Linked DNA regions of Homo sapiens: all the other regions are linked to region 3. Evidence: promoter capture Hi-C in 16 types of primary human blood cells and fetal thymus (Javierre and others, 2016). All regions are on one chromosome and are shown on one strand. The core of a region is centred on a gene start or on the middle of the fragment in contact, and the rest is flanking DNA. Distances in the headings are between cores, read along the strand shown.

Region 1 (3,180 bases), core at 206-2,705, 3.1 Mb before region 3:
CTCCTGCAGTTGCCTCAAGTTACTTTCAAGATGTGACTGTTGAGCAGTTTCCTGCTAATAGAGGGTCAGAATGATCACACTTCTCTCAGCCCCTACACAGCAAGCCAGATCTCCATTTGGCTGTTTTCTCTTTCTGGCAAAAATTGTTCAAATGAGCTAGAGTCAAATATAAGTATTCACAAAACACTGGGGTCATTTAAAAAAATCATTTGCTGAAATTGAAGAGTTTATGGTGCCAAGTAATATATTTGAAAAGAAAATTTGCCCAAGTCAATGGATTTCAAAACACTTGACTTATAACCACAGGAAGAAATATATGTGGGATCTAGTACATTCATACATACATAAATCTAAAACATACCTGGGAGTGGTGGCGCGTGCCTGTAATCCCAGCTACTCAGGGGGCTGAGGCAGGAGAATCGCTTGAACCTGGGAGCCAGAGGTTGCAGTGAGCCGAGATGGTGCCACTGCACTCCAGCCTGGACAACACAGCGAGATTCATTCTCAAAAAATAATAAAATAAAATAAAATAAAATAAAATAAAATAAAATAAAATAAAAATAAAATAAAAGCTTCACAAAATAATACTCACCTTTACTGTGATTCGCCTTTATATATGATTTTTCTTTTCTATTCTTATTTCATTTTAAATAAAGTTGTTCACTATTCACTAAATTGTTTCTCAACCGTCTGTTTATTCTCATTGGTTGGGTGTTCAAGATCTTTTCTTTTCAGAGCCCGCAATTTTATCAATAAAATTTTTGTTGTTGTTTGTAGTTTGAGACAGAGTCTCGCTCTGCTGCCCAGGCTGGAGTGCAGTGGCGCAATCTCGGCTCACTGCAACCTCCGTCTCCCAGGTTCAAGCGATTCTCTTGCCTTAGCCTCCTGAGTAGCTGGGATTACAGGCAACCGCCAACAGGCTCGGCTAATTTTTGTATTTTTAGTAGAGACGAGGTTTCACCATGTTGGCCAGGCTGGTCTCAAACTACTGACCTCAAGTGATCCACCTGCCTCGGCCTCCCAAAGTGCTGGGATTACAGGCGTGAGCCACCGCGCCCGGCCAAAGGCAAGATTTTAATCTAGGGTGCCATGACTCTTCAGTACTTTTTTTCACCACGACTATATTTTTATAAAACTTAAAGAACTGTTTCGACCTGAATATGAGATTGGGCAGTTGAGAGTAATGTTTGAGAGTACTGCATGGGTCAATGATAATATTTCTGAATAGTTTGGAAGTATTAAAACTGAAGAAAATAATTATACTTGCCGGGTGCAGTGGCTCACGCCCGTAATCCCAGCACTTTGGGAGGCCGAGGCGGGCAGATCGCCTGAGCTCAGGAGTTTGAGACCAGCCTGGCCAACATGGTGAAACCCTGTCTCTACTAAAAATACAAAAAAATTGCCTGGGCGTGGTGGCAGGCACCTGTAATCCCAGCTACTTAGGAGGCTGAGGCAGGAGAATCGCTTGAACCCGGGAGTCAGAGGTTGCAGTGAGCCGAGATCATGCCACTGCACTCCAGCCTGGGCAACAGAGCAAGACCCCATCTGGGCGGGGCGGGGTAGAAAATAATTATACTGTAATAATCTGGAAAAAAAATGTTCACACAGTATTAATGTGTGATAATCATCTCATACATTCCAGAAATGAGGTTTGAGAGCCTTCACTGACCATGTGTCATATCCATTTATTTTGGGATCCCTTTCACCCCATTTTTAACTTCCTCCCAGTTGCCCAATGTCCTCTGGAGTTTTCCATCCAAGACCCCCATCTTTTTTTTTCCCTTTCCCCCCTTTTTAGCTTCCTCCCAGTTGCCCAATGTCCTCTGGAGTTTTCCATCCAAGAACTCCAGCTTCTTTTTTTGGGGGTGGGGGAGGACGGGGTTTCACTCTTGTTGCTCAGGCTGGAGTGCAATGGCGCGATCTCGGCTCACTGCAACCTCCGCTTCCCGGGTTCAAGCGATCCTCCTGCCTCAGCCTCCCGAGTAGCCGGGATTACAGGCGCGTGTCGGGATCACACGTGTGAGCCACCACGCCCAGTCCCCCCATCTTCTTAAAGGGGTTAATTTCTTGGCTCTTGCATTTTGACTTTTCCATCATTCCAATTGCCATCCTGTGTCCTGCTCTTTCCCAAGGGTTGCATTCTTACTCTGCTGAATGCTATATTATTGGATTTATGAACAATTGTTAATGTATTATAATTGTCTGATACTTTGATTTACCAGAATGAACACTTCTATAAGTAGGACTGGATCGAACTTGTTCACAATTGGAATCTTGGTGCAAATCCTAGTTCTAAGGGATACAAAGCACAAAATATTTGCGAAATAGAACAAGCTTTCAGACTTCATACTGGCATGTATCTTTGCCTTATGCCAAAGATGTGACGATGTGACTAAATACGGAAGTTTTGTTTTGCTATTGAGCCAAGGTCTTGCTCTGTCATTCAGGCTGGAGCGCAGTGGTGCAATCATAGCTCAGTGTAACCTCCAACTCCCGGGCTCAAGCGATCCTCCCAGCTCAGCCTCCCTAATAGCTGGGATTACAGGCAGGCACCACCGCACCCAATTAATTTTTAATTTGTGTGTGTGTGTGTGTGTGTAGAGACAGGGTTTCAGTAGTTGCCTCCCAAAGTTCTGGGATTACAGGCATGAGCTACCATGCAGGACCTGTTTTGTTTTAATACTTAGTAATTGGGTGTAAAGTCCTTCAAAAAACAGGTGGGGCAGGTGGGAAACTCCCTTTGTGTGACCCTCTAGCACCAGGGATAAAATTTCAACTTCATCTTAAAGCGACAACATACTTTTCCAAGACCAAGTGCGAAATAGTAAAGGGAAGAGCTAGCTCCGTAGCCGTCCGCCACAGAATGCCACAAGCTTTCAATTATGGGACAAAATTGGAACACATGGAAACCCTGTGCAGACTCCCGTGACATCTTCCCTCCTCTCCAAGTCCCTTCCCACAGACCTTGCGCCCCACACGATTATTCCCCAGGGGCCGAGCAGGACGACTTGGGTCCCACTATCCGGACTCAGCGGTGCCCCCACAAAAGCGTCCCAAAAACTCCAGCTGGGGCAGCCCTGGGGCAGATGCTGAAAAGTTGTCAGAGGCCCTCGGGCAGTCCCGAGATCTACCCCAGGCCAGAGGGCCTGACCCTCCCTAAATGCGACGTTCTCCTACCTT
Region 2 (3,092 bases), core at 1-2,500, 3.2 Mb after region 3:
GCTGTTACTTCCTTTGTGTTCATAATTTTTTTAAATCTCTATTTACTTACTTGACCTATGTAAACCAATCCATTGAGGGAGTCAACTGCAACACAAAATGTTGTTCCGGTAAAATATTCTGGGTGCTTAGGCCAACCCACATCCAGCCGGTAAAGAATTTTCTCAGTTCTCCAGGAAACTGCAAAAGTAAAGTTCCTCAAAACCTTAAACAAAATCAGACAATTCAGATTTAGTTTACCGTCTAGGTAAGAACAAAAAAAGGGCGGGGGGGCCGGGTAACAGGGCTTATTTTTAAGCATGCCTTGACAACTAGAAGTTTGCTGGACTGAAATAATTCCAAAGAAATGAGCTTAGATGCCTAAAGACCAACACGACCACAATACAAGTCTGCAAATTATTTGAGGATGTAGTAAGAGTTGGGAAAGAGGAAAATGGCGATGTAACATACACAAATTTTTAAACTCAAAGGGTCAAGGCAGTTTGGACCCAGGTGCAGGCTTTGAGACAAGCTACTGAGGGAACCAGGGCCTGCCACCTCCATGCCACGACCGTGGCGACGCCTCCCAACAGGGCTACCCGCACACCCGACAGTCATTTCCTCACTACCCAACTCACTGGAGAGCCACAAAAACGCGAATGCAAAACCAAAAATGCAAGAAAGAAGCCAGCACCGGCTACGCAGACCCAGAATCTCGCCATGACCAGACGGGAAGCCAGGAGAGGGAGGGTCCGCAGGTGTCTGGGGGAGGACCTGACAGCCTCAGGCTGCAACGGTTTGCAGCGGCACAGAGGGTCTGCCCGGGGCCCGAAGACCCTATCTCCGGTTTCCCCTCCCTGGATGCACGAGCTTTGAGTACGAAAGGGAACAGAGACCAGGGCGAATGAAAATCACAGAAGACCAGTTCCGGACTTCGTGTGCATTTCGGGGTCCCCGCCCTCATGTCAGGTGCTTCGGGCTGACCCAGTGACCACCCTTTCCCGCCCTCAGGGCAGTCCGCGCCGCTGACTTTCAGTGGCCACCAAAGTATGGGCGCCCGTAGATATGCCTTAATCGCTCGCCATTTATTCTTTTTAATCCAGAGGGCAAAATCAAAACATCGCACACTCAGACACGAGGTATGGTGGGGATGACATTCAAAATAATGACCGCTAGGCTTCGGGAAGGATTTTTGCCACATCCTATTCCTACCATCCAGGCATCCGCTATGGATGCCTATATTCCCACACCAGGACCCCACCTCTGGCTTTCAGGAAAGAGGGGCCCAAGCTGGCGGCGCAGTGTTGAGTTTACTTGGGCGCGACTGGCTTTATTGTAGGTCCCCATGAGCTGGTGGGGGCTGTAGGGGTAACCAGGCAGGGCGTCTGGCGCTGTTGGGGCTGCGTTTTTCCGGAGTCCCCCTATGCGAGGCCGTGCCCCTCTTCGCCCGGCTCCTGGTGCTCCCCAGCCGCCGGCCCGCTCCCGGAAGCTGCAGCAGCTGGTAACAAAGAGCCTGCCGGGCCGCCTGCTGCCGGGGCCGAGGTATCCAGGAGTCGGGCGGAGCGGCTGGGGATGAGCGCGAGCCGGACCATGCGTCCGGGTTCGCGGCGGTGAGGGTCGCGGCCGGCGGCCGAGGCGCAGGTGCGGGTCGAGAGACCGGCGCCTCCCTCCCCGCCGCCCGTGGACTCTGAGCGCAGGTGTTTCTACTCTGCCGGCCGCTCCACCTGGGAAAGCGCCTTCAAGAGCTACCTCTGGCGGCACCTGGCCCTCAGCTGCAGGGAAACCGCACTCAAACCTGCCGCCGAGCCCGGGTTTTTCTGCAAAACTCAGAGGACCTGGCTCTTGCCCGAGGTGCCCTGAACCATTGTGTGAATAAGCTGGGGAAGCCTGACTGGAGTGTTTTTTCTTTTTAATAAAAAGAGTTTTTCTGAATCTCAATTTTTAGAAATTTTTTTTGCGAAGTTTGCAATACTCTCTACCTCTTCGCATCCTCTCTTGCTCGTGGAGTCTTTTTCCTCCTCAGCTATAAATATTTTTTACTATCGGCGGAGCAGACCAGGGATGAACGTCTTTTAATTGCAAGTATAACTGTTAAAACCACGTCGGGATAGTAGTCAAGATGGATAAAAAGTCCTTTGAAATGGTGCTGGATGAAATTAGAAAGGTAATTAGACCGATTCCATGAATTATTTTATGAGATGAATTCTCGTGTTTTAGACTCTCTTTGAGGTACTGTATGGAGATTGTGCAGAATAAGGGTCCTAGGATTGCCAAATTGGTTTGAATTTTCACGTGTAATGGAGGAGTTTATATCTTGATACGTTTCCAGTACAAATAGAAATTAAGTTACGTTAACGCCAAATTTGAGACTCAGCACGGTGTCGTGGGAATTACATTTGTAAAGCCCTCGGTTCCAAAGCCGGCTTTACAAATCCGTAATAGCTCTGTACTTTTTGGGTAAGGGGTTTAATATTTTTGAGTTTATTGCCTCATCTTTCAGTAACACAAGAGTGACTGAAAACGAGAGGTAATACGCAGAAAGTTTCTTTTATGGTAGTTATTATGATGGGGTTTTCAAATCTAAGCATAAGGTAGAGTATATTTGTTGCGTTGGCCATGCAAAATTCGTGTCCTGATGGTAAGTGTGGCATTAAGTTTAAAGTCACGTTCTTAGGAATTGGCCGTCAATAACTTGAGCTTCAAAACTTTTTTCTCCTGCTTTCCAAGTTTTTGCTGCTTTTTGAGGCTGTTGTGTGGATCGCATTTCCCAGAGTGAACCAGACAGCAACAATTCTGGAAGGTAGTCTTGAGCCTAACAATATCTCAAGCACAAAAATACCGAGAAGTTACTTATTTTAAAATGTAAGGACTTGATGTACCATTGTTACATCAACACACGGTGCTTTCCTTCGGCCTTCCGGGCAATTATTCTTTCGTCAGCTGCATACCTTTACGACCCTTGACTGAAACGGAAGAAATTGTTGCCATGTGCTCTGGTGCTTATTTCAGTTTACAAAGCTATTATTAAAATTGTCTCTGGTCTTGCTGTTTTGCTTTGTTTTTATACAGCTTTTTTCTTTTTTCAAATTGACGTGTTTAAGTTTTCATATTTGAT
Region 3 (3,508 bases), core at 268-2,767:
AGGCAACTTCCCATATCCTCAACAACTGCAAAATATCACTGGCCTAGGAGTCCACTGCTAGGCCCTTATCAATATTGTCGATACTGCAGTTATGTGGGTACATACATTAGTCTCTAGCTCAGCTTGGGAACCCACTTCTTCCCTGATTTCCTTACATTCTTTGACCTTTCATAAATTACTGTTACAGCTACAATAGTGACATTCACTGTCCACCCCTGGGTCAGTTTTGTCAGGAGGAACAACGACAAGAAAAAATGAATAATCAGGGTACCGTTTGAAAAAGTAAATGTGTTTTTCAAAAAAAAAAAAAATCATTCAATTGCACTATTTTAACTGACACCAATCATGCCAGGCACTGGGCTGCCATCCTAAAATGATGACATTAAAAAAAATATATCTGTGCATTACTGATACCCCATTTTTTCTTAGTACTCCATATTTTGAGTATTTTCAGACATAACAAAATAACAATCGACATGACATTTCTAAAACAGTGGGAAGCAGCTAAGCAAAACGAGCATTTTGCAAGCGATTGAAAAGCTGAAAAGAGAACAGGAATTAACTCCAGTTTGTACTAAAGCTATTAGGTATGTATCTCAGCAGTCTTTCTCACCATGAAACTCCTTAACATCTAAAGCTAAACCACATCCAACTTTATATGGTTTTAGAAGACAGACAAAGCAGAGAAAAAAAATGAAAGCTGGTAATATGGGGAAGAGAAAAAATGTTAGCTTTTACTGTCATTGTCACTTTTTAATACTTCGGTTACATCTACATATTTTTTATAAAGCAGCTTAGATGCCTGGATTAACAGCAGTATACTCAATCCATTCGGGGTACTTTATGGCCAGCCTTAAGCCATTAACAGCCTAGGAGAGTATTTGACAGCAAATCCAAATATCAATACTCTGAGGAGCCCCTTGACGCCTTCCGTTTACAAGATCTGAGCAGCGCCTGCTTCCAAGGCTCCGGGGGTCTGACAGTGAAGGATGCTGTTCGGGAACAAAGTGCAACGTCCTCCCAACCGCTGCAAATGTTCCTGTGCGCACACCACGAACACACACTAAGCACGCGCACCACGCACCCGGGGGGCCGTCTCTGAAGACCACCCCGGGGATGGAAACAGCCTGTCATTAAAAGGGGCGGCAGCTCCACCGCCACACTTGGGACCCCAGGAAGACGCGTCTCGAGACCCAGCACCTCCCTCTACTCTGGGCCCGGTGCGGTGAGTTTCCTCCTTCGGCCGCGCTCCTCCCGCCCTCCTCCCTCCGCCATGCGAAGGCGCAGCTCTCGGGCGGCCCCGAAGCCAGAAGGGGGACCAGCGGCAGGCGGAGGGGCTGGAGCGCCGGAGCCGGGCCGCTCCATCCATGCCGGCCGCACACCCGCCGCCACCCCATCTAAACGCAGCCTCCGCGGCGAGCACGTCGGCGCCCGGCTCACCTGGGGGCCGCAGCCTCCGCAGCTCACAGACATGTCACCGGCCTCAACGACCCGTGAGCGAGCCGGGCAAGCAAGCTGGCCCCCTCCCGCGCTGACCCCCAGCCCTCCCCCTCCCAGCCCCGCGGCCCGCCCCCGCCCTGCCCACCCCTCGGCTTCCGCCGCCGCCGCCGCCGCCGCAGCTCCGGCCCGCAACACCGCCTACTCTCCACGCCTCCCACTCTCTCTCGCGAGAGGGCAGCGCGCCTCTCGCGAGAAAAATTCCGCGGCCGAGCCCGCGCAAAAGTGGGTGGGCGTTTAAAAAGGGAAAGAAGGAACAGGAAAAAAAGCCTTCCCACGTGCTCCAGTGCAGCCCGCGGAGCAGCCCGCGGGGCAGCCCCGCTGGTCACATGACTTAAAGGGGGCCTCTCCATTGGCCGGGACCCACTCAGCCTTGGGAGCTTTAAATTCGAGGGCGACCTACGAACCTGCGGCGGACGTCTTGCGCGCTTCCTGGTCCGTTGCCTTGGAAACGGCTTAACCCTTCCCTCTGGCAAGTCCCCAGGCCTTGGCTTGCTCCGCAGATTTGGTTTCAGGCTCTGCCTCTTTTCCCTCGACCCCTTAGTCTTAACAGCCTGGGGCCAGCTGGGCTCCTTCTTCGCCACAAGGCTAGTTTTGCTTTCTTCCGAAGCCCGGGGCCCTTCCCAAAGTGGCAGCCCCACCAGATCCGAAGGCCCAAGGAAGGCTCATCCTTTCTGATGGCTCCGCCCCTTCTCCCAGCATCTCCGGGGAGGACCACTCACAGCGCACCGGGCAACCAGCCCTATCCCAGCCAAGAAGTAGCTTCCAGGGTTCTCAGGGCCCTAGTGCTCACCCTGATGTCTTTACGTGGTATGGAAATCGGAAAGTAAAGCTTTGGTCACTGGGAAGCCTAGCCAGAGATGAAAAGCTGTTATGGTGATTATTTTCACCTAAAATCGGAAGGGCCAGTCCAGTCAAATTGCCCTGTCTCCTAAAGGGCATCTGTTCCTCAAGAGTGGAAACACCTGGCAATAAGAAAGACATTTTTGAGTGTATCCTCGTTATGAGTTAAGTTTTGCCCTGTTCAGAGGAGAGGGTCACGGAAGAAAGGGTGCATTCGTTTGTTCATTTCTTCATTCAACAAACACTACTCTAGGCTGTTGATTGAACAATGATGAAGACAAGTAGTGTAGATTCTAGGGAACTTATCTGAGGGTGAAAAGAAAAAAAATCTGTTGGTTTTAAGCTGTATGCAAAGAAGTTACAATAAGTGACGTGATGGTGATGGTGACTGAGTGGCTAGTAAAGGGGATGCCCTTTTAAGGAGGAGATATTTTAGCAGCGATTTGAATAACAGACGCAAAAATCAGAGCATAGAGCATTCCAGGAAAAGGATAACACTAATTCAAAGGCCCTAAGTAAGGATCTATTCTAGTGCATTTGAGGGAAGAAGAAATGAGAAAGTAAACTTTCTTGAGCCTGGAGATGGAAACTGTAAGAGTTAAAGAAAGAAACACAAAAAGCAGCTTAACAGAGACAGGTTTATTTTGGAGAATAAACCTGAGAGGGGCTTCTGGCCGATTTCGGTCAGGAGTGTTCTCTCTTACAGACTAAAGGTATTTAGTGGTTTAGGGAGGGAGAGCATATTGTAGACTTGGAATGTTTCTGGGTGGAGGAGAGTTTTATTGTCAGGGGTGTAATGTCTCTGGTTGGAGGGGAGGCATATTTCTGATCAGAGTGGGGTTTATCTCAGGGTTGGAAAGTTTCTGGTCAGAAGTGTTATTTGTGGTTTATGGTCATGCTGACATTAGCCATTAGGCTGATGTTTCTGGGGCTGGATTTAGGCGGTTTTTAATCAAGGGGAACTTAAAATGGCGGTGCTTGTCCAAGATGGTGATGCTCTTGCTCTGTCAGAAACTAGCATGGGCCAGATCCTGTAAGGCTTTGTTAGCCAAGAAAGGAATTGAAAGTTTATTCTAAACGCAATATAAGGTATTACAGAGTTTTTAATAGGGGAGAGACACCCAGAGTTTACTTTTTTTTAAAAAAAAAAAGTCTCGTCTTTGAAAAG

The links. The method cuts DNA at HindIII sites, captures the fragments that hold promoters and counts their contacts. A CHiCAGO score of 5 or more calls a contact.
Region 1: a contact is called between a fragment that was not itself captured here and the fragment with the promoter of AKAP11 in region 3, in 1 of 17 cell types (naive CD8 T cells). The highest score is 6.2, in naive CD8 T cells.
Region 2: the fragment with the promoter of PROSER1 here is called in contact with the fragment with the promoter of AKAP11 in region 3 in 5 of 17 cell types (naive CD8 T cells, naive CD4 T cells, total CD8 T cells and 2 more); the score reaches 10.7 in naive CD8 T cells.

The regions. Positions count from the first base shown.
Region 1 is chr13:45,341,628-45,344,807 of GRCh38, reverse strand. TPT1-AS1 (TPT1 antisense RNA 1) reads right to left here. Exons shown (of 11, transcript NR_024458.1): 2 at 1,268-1,382; 3 at 362-429. It overlaps LOC124903169 (a long non-coding RNA gene), which reads right to left. Exons shown (of 2, transcript XR_007063781.1): 1 at 3,178-3,180; 2 at 1,505-1,521. Among named protein-coding and RNA genes, the nearest start is that of TPT1-AS1, 1.9 kb to the right of the region's middle. RefSeq lists an enhancer at 1,399-2,186. The HindIII fragment of the contact is 1,762 bases long and covers 575-2,336 here.
Region 2 is chr13:39,036,247-39,039,338 of GRCh38, reverse strand. It overlaps PROSER1 (proline and serine rich 1), which reads left to right and starts at 1,250. Exons shown (of 13, transcript NM_025138.5): 1 at 1,250-2,141. The coding sequence starts at 2,097. NHLRC3 (NHL repeat containing 3) reads right to left here and starts at 883. Exons shown (of 7, transcript NM_001012754.4): 1 at 616-883; 2 at 51-203. The coding sequence starts at 699. RefSeq lists a silencer at 1,540-1,769 and an enhancer at 2,912-3,021. The HindIII fragment of the contact is 10,591 bases long and covers 1-3,092 here.
Region 3 is chr13:42,270,161-42,273,668 of GRCh38, reverse strand. It overlaps AKAP11 (A-kinase anchoring protein 11), which reads right to left and starts at 1,517. Exons shown (of 13, transcript NM_016248.4): 1 at 1,441-1,517. RefSeq lists a silencer at 1,258-1,607 and an enhancer at 2,148-2,327. The HindIII fragment of the contact is 2,900 bases long and covers 1-2,331 here.